2 separate regions of the Homo sapiens genome follow, and region 2 is linked to region 1. Evidence: promoter capture Hi-C in 16 types of primary human blood cells and fetal thymus (Javierre and others, 2016). All regions are on one chromosome and are shown on one strand. The core of a region is centred on a gene start or on the middle of the fragment in contact, and the rest is flanking DNA. Distances in the headings are between cores, read along the strand shown.

Region 1 (4,777 bases), core at 2,168-4,667:
ATTCTGGGTCCCTTTTATAGGCTAAAGTTCCTTGGCAGAAGCAGCAATTCCAAGAATCTAGTTAGCTGATGCCTTTTTTGTCAGCCTGATAGGAAGACTGGGCCAAGAGAATATTGAAAGCACAAAGCACCACCCCTTACCTCCCTGACATTTCCCCTCACGGCCCAGTTTCTCTTCCACTTATCCTTCCCCCACACTTAAGATTTCCAGCCTACTCCTGTTTAGAATGAGGGTTCAGCGGAGGACCAGAGCAAATATACTTGAATGTGGATTATCATGGGATGGGGGGTTTATTATAGGTATTAACCGCTACTTGCCCACCCAATATCTATTTCCTGCTCTTAGTAACAGAACCCAGATTTTGTTTAGGAGGTAATGTGCCTAGTTGAATTATATGCTTCCTCGGACTCTACTGAAGTAGGCATGGTTAAGTGATGTAGTTTGACCAATAAGATGTCAATTAAGGGATTTGGGAAAGCTCTGCTTTAATGATACAGGCACAACTTATTTCCACTTCCTTTTACATCTTCTTCCCTAGAATTTGGGGATGAAGAGGGAGACAGGGCAATCACCTTTGGACTATGAGATAACCATGAGGATGAATGCTTTATGTGAAAAATGGTGTTGGAGAAAGGTAGAAGGTAGCTGGGGACTGACACCACCGCAGAGCTGCTGCCCCAACCTAGATAGCCTACCTCCAGATTTCTACTAGGTGACAAAGCCAACCCTTACTTGACTATGGTTAGGTTACTGTGATGACATATAGTCATCTGAAATTCTAACAGATACAGCTGTCTACCAGGAACATAAATTTAACGTCTTTAGATGAATCCAAAGTTTTTAAGGTTTTAATGTTAAAAAGTCCAACTCTCATGTCTGATAGAACAGGAATGCACAACCCTCCAAACCACATCACCCACTACAGAGTGGTAAGTACAGGTCATTAAATGAAAGCAGCACAGAAAAGTGGCTTCAGAGAGGGAATCATTTAATGCCCCTTACCTTCATTAGCCCCATTCCCCAAGTCTTACCACATAAACGTAAATTCCAGGTAAAACTGTGCTTACCAGGTAAACACACTTCCAGACAAGTTCCTTGTTGCCCTAGATTGCCATCCCTAAACTTCTCCTACATGGCAATTCTGCCACAGCATAATTTTCAGGGCAGCTCCACCCACAGTTAAAGTTATGATTTAGGGTTCATTACTACACATACCTTGAAACTTTTAAGCAGACACATTAAAGTAATGCAGCTCAAGGAATGTTAACAACTTTTTCCACTTTTGCCCCAGCCAGTTTCTACTCTAATCCAAAACGGCTTCTTTATCACCACCCACTTTACTCAAATTACGCTTACAGAATTCATTATCCTCCCGGGTAGAATCACCGAAAATAATGTGAGCATTTATATAGAAAGTGTAGTTCAGATAAAGCAATATATTAATAGGCCAAATTAGAAAAGGATAGCACGCTGCTAGTTTTCTGTATGCACTCTTGCCCGTGTGAAATTAAACTTTTTTGCATCCATGCGGGGAGCGGTGGCTCAGGCCTGTAATCTCAGCGCTTCCTAAGGCCGAGGCGGGCGGATCACTTAGGGTCAGGAATTCGAGACCAGCCTGGCCAAATTGTGAAGCCCCTTCTCTACTAAAAATACGAAAATTAGCCGGGAGTGGTAGTGGGCACCTGTAATCCCAGCTACTCGGGAAGCTGAGGCAGGAGAATCTCTTGAACCAGGAGGCGGAGGTTGCAGTGAGCCAAGACCACGCCACTGTACTCCAGCCTGGGTGATAGAGCGAGATTCTGTCTAAAAAAAAAAAAAATTGTATCCAAAGTTGGAGTTTGCCTTTATTATTGCAAATGAGATAATAACCTTTCAAGTAGGAAAACAACAAAAAGGAAAACTATATAATGAAATTTCTTTTACTCCCAGAACCAAAATAACGAGACTTCCAGATAGAAATTTGCATGGAGTCAATCAGAATTACATATTATTTTCATTTCCGAACAGAATTACTCCATCAAGTTTTCTGATATCTTCCTAATGTTTCTCAGTAAAACTTTAGCAAAGTAATAAAAATTCACCTAAGAATGATCAAAATTGCGTTGAGTCCCAAATAAATAATTTTTTTTATTTTAAGGGAAAAATTCCGCACTTTGCTTTCTTTTTTTTTTTTTTAGGTAGGCAGGGACAATCAGGAAGCAGCCCCGGATTTTCAGAAACGATCTTTAGCATCACCAAGACATAGACTAAAGAAACATGTAATGCACAACTTAGGCTGCTCCTTCATCCAAGGCAATTCAAATTTCCACGGATACCAAGTCTTCAATGGCCGGTGTCAACCATTCAATAGAAGCATACCAGAAAATGTTGCGATTGCCTTCTTCACCACAAGAGTCTAAGTGACACAAATTTGGGCAGAAGTAATTATTTGGCCAAGCCGGGAGGCAGGAAGCTTAAATACCGCCTCTGTAGGAAGTGCGGGGGATCCGAAGCAAACACCCCAAAGTTTGTTTGTGAGTGGAGGCGCGGAGGCGCCCGGAGCCACGCCGAAGCTCACCTGGTCAGCGCACAGAGCCGGGTAGGAGTCGGGTCTAGCCCTAGTTTGCTCCTGAGCGCTTCGTTCCTCTCAGGCTACTGCGTTTAAATCAATACTGGGTGGCAAACGATACCCATTCTTTGGGCTCTGAAGTTTGGAATTCATGGGTTCTGCGGCACAAGAAAGTTTCTTCACAGGTTATTTCCCTGTCCGAGGCTGTCGCTTAGCTCATCTCCTCCCGGTGCGGCCCTGGGGTGTCCACCAAGCCGCCGGGCAGATCGCTGCCCCGTGCTGCGGCATCTTGATGCCCAGGACCCCGAGGCTGTGGGGCAGCCCCTCCTACCTGGGACAAGCGGCCAGAACTCCTTTTCCCACAGGGAAGAACACTCCAAGCCCCCGGAAGAGTGCGCATCCTAAGGAGATGTCTCCCAACGCCTAGACAAAGACAGCGCTGGGAAAAGTTGGACCAACTGGCACCCCCGCAAGGCGAACAGAGCAGTCCCCTCGGCCTTCGTGGCCGAGCCGGCTACGCGCTCTCGGAGTCGCGGCCAACTTTTCCCGCGAGCTTCTGAGCAACTTGCCGCAAGTTGGGGCGAGGGGGCAGAGCAGGGGTCAAGGGCGCGCGGAGGGACTGATCTCGCTCCTGTCGGTTTCCTCGTACCTCCCCGCGTACCTGCTGATGTATCCGTCCCCGTCGCCGTCGCACGTCTGGAAGAGGCGCCGCATCCTCTCCTCCTCGCCGGTGCTGGACGTGTCGCTGCTGCTGCTGCTGCTGCCGCTGCCGCCGCCGCCGCCGCCGCTGCTGGAGCTCCCCGCAGCCGCTGCCGCCGCGGCCGCCATCATGCGCCCGCTCCCTACTTGGGAGGAGGAGTACGCGCGACCGCAGCTGGAATCCGCGCGGCGCGCAAGCTGCCTGCAGCCCCGAACTTGCCTGACAACGGAGCATGCCCAGTGGCCGCCGGGGCGCTCCGGGCGAGGGATTCCACCTCTCCGGGTTTTGCCCGGACTGGGAAGATGGGCGCTCTGGAATCGCCCGAGGAGGCACCTCAGGGAAGAGGGAGGAGGGGAAGGTGGCTGGAAGAGTCAGGGAGCTAAGGGTGGCAACGGGAACACAAGAGGAGGCAGAATACACTGGAAGCCCCCGGGAAGGGTGTCAGCATTGTGCATCCGGCAACGACGCGGGCCCGGGACACTTGGGGACGCTTCAGGCAGAGGGCAGGTGTACTCCCGGCAGACCTTCTCCGACCGCCCGGAGTCATGGCTTCCTTTTCCAGAGAAGCTATATAAACACTCTCCTTCTGCAAACTCAAAACGGTGCTTGTAATCCCACTCTCCAGGATTGTTCCGGGTTCTGTACCCATAGCCACCAATGAGAACCGGAATGACTGGCCTTTTTATGAAATTTTGACACCTGTCAAGAAACCTGGCCCTCGCAGCCCTCATCTTGGCTCCCACTCTGTACTGGGAAGAGTCTGCACGCTGTGTGGCATTGTGTACGTTGGGTCAATTTCTGGAAACGGCTCACTCTACTGGCCAGGCATCACTAGAATTTCCCCCAACAGCTTTAATAATGCCAAGAGCGAACATAATAGATGGTCTCATTTGATCCACACTACAGACCTGGAAGATGCCTCTTTTATTATCAATCCTACGACTTAGGAAGTATTAATAGATAAGTACCTCATAGAGTTATCTTACATATAAAAGGAGAGCAGACATAATGCAGTTAGGACAATGTCTGACACCTAGTAAGTGCTCAACAACTGTTAGCTCTCATTGTTCCCAATTTACAGGTAAGAAAACTGAGGTACCAAGACCTGCTCAAGGTTCCAGGTTTAGTAAGTGTTAGGGCAGAGGCAAGCCCGGGCAGCCTAACTCCAGAGCAGGAGCCTTTAAACACTGCACTATTCCCCCATAGCCAAAGGGAAACCACAGTGAAGCAATTTGTGGTTTCGTGAATGACTCATTATTCTGTCCTGGATTTTCTGCCAGAGAGGCGTGTGAAGTTCTCTGGTGGTTTTAAAATATGTCCACAGATTCTTTGGTGCACCCCTCATCAAGAGGTGGAGTCTGTTGCTTCCCCTAAACCTGGATTGGACTTGTGACTGCCTTGACTTCTGAGACTAGGTTAGAAAAGGCAATGCAGATTGCACTTGGCTCTCTCCCTTGGGACACTTACCTTTGAAGCCTTGAGCTGCCTGAAAAGAAGTTTGGCTACCCTGAAGCTGGAGAAACCATGCA
Region 2 (4,684 bases), core at 205-2,704, 150 kb before region 1:
TTAAAATGGCACCAATCCCACCCATGAGGGTGGAGCCATCATGGCCTAATCACCTCTTAATTGTCCCACCTCTTAATACTGTTATAATGGCAAAAAAATTTCCATATGAATTTTGGAGGGGAAAACAAACCATAGCAGGCACTATGCACCTTGTCCACTTGCACACATTATTGCTAATCTGCTGCTTAACTACTTGGTGTACCAGGCTTGCAGTAATTCTAATTCACTAAATCTCCTCCTTCAGCTTCTCTGAGTCCTGGGCCAAGTGTGTGTGCAGGAGACACACTGCAGGAGATAGTGCCAGTTTCTCCTGCAGGTCACCCGCAGCATCAAGGTTGGACATGGTAAGACACAGAAGAGGGTTCCAGTTTGTCCTCAATGGTCCCATTGGTCCTCATGAGTTCTGGTTTGTCCCTACTCTCCTATACATCTAGCTTTCCCTCTTAACAGCTGATCTGACAAACCTATAGTAACTTCAGGCTCAGCACTAGACACAGAACCAATAGTCTTCATAGATTGCATCACCAGCTCTCACATTTGTGTAAGGTCTAGCCCTTAGGATAATAAATCTCTTATTCTGTATAATGTGTGGCCATTTTGCTACTTCGATAAAACCATGGCTGCTGTAAGTATCTGTGTACAACACTGTCTTGTTGCCTTTGCATTGTGAACGGTATGTTAAGCCTCATGGTATCCACTGTCTTAGGTAGAAGGAGAAGACTGGTGATTGGTGGTAGAAGAAAAGGAAGAGATGCTTAGAAAGGTAAAAAGCTTATGTAGGAATCTCTCAGGAAATCCTCAATGCTAAAAATGTCTGTGCTAGTTATCATTTGTTGCTTCTCATCTCCAAATCCAGCTTTCTTTGTCCTGTTTTGTGGTCTTGGAGCTGGACCATGTAAACATTTCTCCTTTGTCAATAGAGGGTGCTGGAGGGACACTGTAGGAAGAAGGGAACTCAGCTTGACTCTCGTGGCTTGACTGCTGTGCTCTCCCCTGCTAGCTCTTGTGGTGGGTAGGCGCCAGCAGCATAGGACATCTAGTGACTCACCCTATTAAGTTTTAGTGGCAGTATTTGGGGGACTTTTCAGTGGGTTTGCCACCACTCCAGCAGGCAGCTTCCCAGTGAATCCCTCTGGCACCTCGGAGGACACCTCAGTGATACCTGATGAGTCTTGCAGATGCCCCAATGGGTGGTATACCAGGAGGCTGGACGAAGGTTCAGAAGTTTGGTTTCCTGCTTGCCAGCCCTGGCCTGCAACATCTCAGGGAAATTCTCTGCAATTCAGTGGGCTGCAGACTTTCTTTGAAAGGGGTCTGAATCAGCCCTGGGTGAGGGGAGGGCCCTCTTCCAAATTTGTTCCTTCTTTGGTACTCTTTCCTTGGGAACAGCCTTAGGGGTAGTGGCTGTTCTTCGTATGTGCTATTCCTGTGTTCAGTACGGTTTTCTTTACCCTTAGTAGGTAATCCTCTGCTACTAGTTAATAATCATTTATATTAAACTTTCCCTGTGTGAATTACTGTGTGCTTTCTGTCTCCTAACTAGACACTGATAAAATGCCTTTTGCTCTTAGTAGCTATTTAAAAGAAAAATAATAAAACTTAATTTTATTAGTTCAAGATTTTTCCTTAGAAGGGACATAAATTACTTTTAATGTGATTATATAAATAAAGGGATTGCCCAAATGTGCAGTTTCAAGAGACTATTTGCTTTCTTTGGCCACCTGGGAAGGGTATTTCTCAAATCGGGCTCTACAGACCCTTCTGAGTAGACCCTGAGTCACTATGGCTATGAAACAAACTACCGCAAACACAATGGTTAAAACAACCATCATGTATCACTCTCACGTATCTGACAGAAGGACTCTAGAGTTGCATGACAAATGGTGAAGACACAGGACAGGATGAAGAACTGGGGCCCAAAATGTACTCTACCACAGGGTCCAAGGGCATTAAAAATGGGTCTGTGAATTCAAATGGTATTTTTAAAGTTTTACTTTTCCATTTGGTGAGGAAATAAATAGTGTAATCATAGTCATAGGACTTCAGTGCCTGCATTTGCATTCATGGTTCAGTTCTTGCCAAGGGATCGCCTTAAGTGAGTGTGCAGAGGAAATGTTAGGCAGTGTTCCCTCATTTCTAAAGCTTAACCAGTAAAGTAAAAAGAGGGTATGTATATGACTGTGGGGTATGTGAGAGCTCTCTGTGCCTTGACTCCCCTGAAGAGCCAACTTAGAGAACCTGGCTGTGGGAACCCCAAGGGCTGAGCTGGCCTCCAATCAGGAGAGACAGGAGAACAGAAATCAGTCCAGGAGGTTACTGGAGAAGCTGGGAACCACAGAGTCATACAGAGATAGGAAACAGCCAACTCCCACAGTTTTCAATAGCAGATTTGCTGCAGAAAACTGGTCGGCCATGAACCTGGAACCCTCCAGAGAAGGTACCATCAAATTTTGATCTCTGTTTAACACTGATTTCTGCTATAACCCATCCTGTTATGGCAATGTCTGTCTTGAGAAAAGGCTGAGCTGATATAGTACAGAGGAGGGTTCAACTTGCTGCAAATTATTTGAAGCAGGCATAGCCTAAGTCCAGGCCTATGCCAGAGAAAGATGACATATTCACTGATAATCGCCTAATCTCCTGAGCACATAGGAGGGCAAGATTAGGATAGTTAGAGTTCTACTCAAACTGTGCAAGAATGTCCTTGAAGTGTGGCCAAGTGACAAACAGTGCAATAACTATGAATGTTTTTACAGATTTTATGAGACATTATCATACCCTAGCAGTGACTGTGCATGTTTATATGTTTTTAATAAATTTTTTATTTTATAATAGTTTTAGGCTAAGGCGGGTGGATCACTTGAGGTCAGGAGTTCGAGACCAGCCTGGCCAACATGGTGAAAACCCTGTCTCTACTAAAAAAAAAAAATACAAAAATTAGCCAGGTGTGGCAGGTACCTGTAATCCCAGCTACTTGAGAGGCTGAGACAGGAGAATTGCTTGAACCTGGAAGGCGGAGGTTGCAGTGAGCCAAGACTGCGCAATTGCACTCCAGCCTGGGCAACAAGAGCGAAACTCCATCTCAAAAAAAAAAACAAATAGTTTTAGACAAAATTTGCAAAGACAGGAGAGAGAGTAATCATATACCCCACAAATAGTTTTTCCTACTTATTAACATCTTACATTATTTTGGTATACTAGTCATAATAAACTGATGTTGACACACTATTATTAACTAAAGTCCATATTTTATCTAGGCTTCCTTAGTGTGTGTGTGTGTGTGTGTGTGTGTGTGTGCGTGCATGTGTGTTTTACTGTAATGTCCTTTTTTTCTGATCCAGGATCCCATTGAGGATATGCATTCCATTTAGTTGTCGTATTTTCTTAGGCTTCTCTTAGCTGGACAGTTTCTCTTTATTAGACTTTCCTTGTTTTTGATAACCTTGACAGTTTTGAGGAGTTTTGGTTACGTATTTTGTAGACTGTCATTTAATTGGGATTTTTCTGATGATTGTATTTTAATTATTGTTGCCATATTTACAATTGCTAGTTCCTTCAAACATCCCACCAAAAGTGTCAGAATTAGAAAGTGTGCCTCAAACACAGAGTTTGAAAACCACTGGTCTACATCAAAGCAGACTGTAAATATGCATAAGTCAAGGTTATTGAGATGCTTAGTCTACCATTTGAACTTCAGTTTCAAAAAGCCAGGTAGGCTTTTAGACCTTTCCCACAGTGGCTGCATAGCAATCTCAATTTGTACTGTCTGCATGTCACCCAAAATGGCCAGGCCATCGGCCACCCGCCTCATTTGGCAGCCCTGACTTAGAAGAGAAGACAATAGCTCTTTGCCCAAAGGTCGCTTTGTAGTGACTCACCTTGAAGGAAAAAGGAAGGTAAATTACACATAATGGCCTTCTAAGTTGTCCCACAGTTTTCAACAGAAAATACTCTTAAAGTATAACCAGAAACAAGAAACCTTCAATGCAATATTTTCCTTTTTGTTTTCCAAATAAGTAAAGTCCAAATTAGGAAACAGAAGCAAGTATATCCTATTAATTTGTAATGTCTAGAACCATAGAAGTAGTCTAGTTATGGAAGAGCTGTTGTGCATCTTCTAGTAATTAAACCTGTGCAAGTTACAGCCTTAATCAAAACACCTTTTAGGAGTCTACTCTGGTCTCCATGAGAGTGAAGTCCCTAAGTGCTGGCAACTTTGGAACACTAAACATTACTGGCAATGCTGGAAATGGTACAATATTTACCGCAATAAAGAAGACAATACCCGATATGTCCCCTGGAGCACAAAATTAAAATATTTGTATTGGAATACAGACAGGCCGAAATATGTATTCCATGAACCAAAAAGTACTCACTGTGTTGGCCAGCTCTAGATAGCTTCCTCCTACAGAGTTGCCAATGTGCGGGGACTGTGTGAGCAGTTTGTGGAGAGCAGCCTGCTGATGCAAAGAGCTTCCGCCATACTCGAGCAGCTTCTGGAGGGCTGACTGGCTCTGCACATCCGGGCTCTGGAGGTCCCTGGCACCAGAGTCGTATTCCCAGCTCTCCCTGGCTGCTGATAAGGCACCTAAGTCCGAGAGAAGCAGAGAAAATGAAAAGACATTTCCTTCATTAGCCTGTGGGTGGCCAATAGGCAATGATTTGGAACCTCCTAAGCCTTCCA

What was found. The method cuts DNA at HindIII sites, captures the fragments that hold promoters and counts their contacts. A CHiCAGO score of 5 or more calls a contact.
Region 2: a contact is called between a fragment that was not itself captured here and the fragment with the promoter of MCC in region 1, in 6 of 17 cell types (endothelial precursors, naive CD4 T cells, total CD4 T cells and 3 more). The highest score is 6.1, in endothelial precursors.

Annotation. Positions count from the first base shown.
Region 1 is chr5:113,485,036-113,489,812 of GRCh38, forward strand. MCC (MCC regulator of Wnt signaling pathway) reads right to left here and starts at 3,418. Exons shown (of 19, transcript NM_001085377.2): 1 at 3,210-3,418. The coding sequence starts at 3,379. RefSeq lists an enhancer at 3,317-3,611. The HindIII fragment of the contact is 3,844 bases long and covers 2,451-4,777 here.
Region 2 is chr5:113,336,143-113,340,826 of GRCh38, forward strand. MCC (MCC regulator of Wnt signaling pathway) reads right to left here. Exons shown (of 19, transcript NM_001085377.2): 3 at 4,377-4,588. It overlaps LOC124901045 (a long non-coding RNA gene), which reads left to right. Exons shown (of 3, transcript XR_007058904.1): 3 at 245-3,623. Among named protein-coding and RNA genes, the nearest start is that of TSSK1B, 97 kb to the right of the region's middle. The HindIII fragment of the contact is 1,371 bases long and covers 770-2,140 here.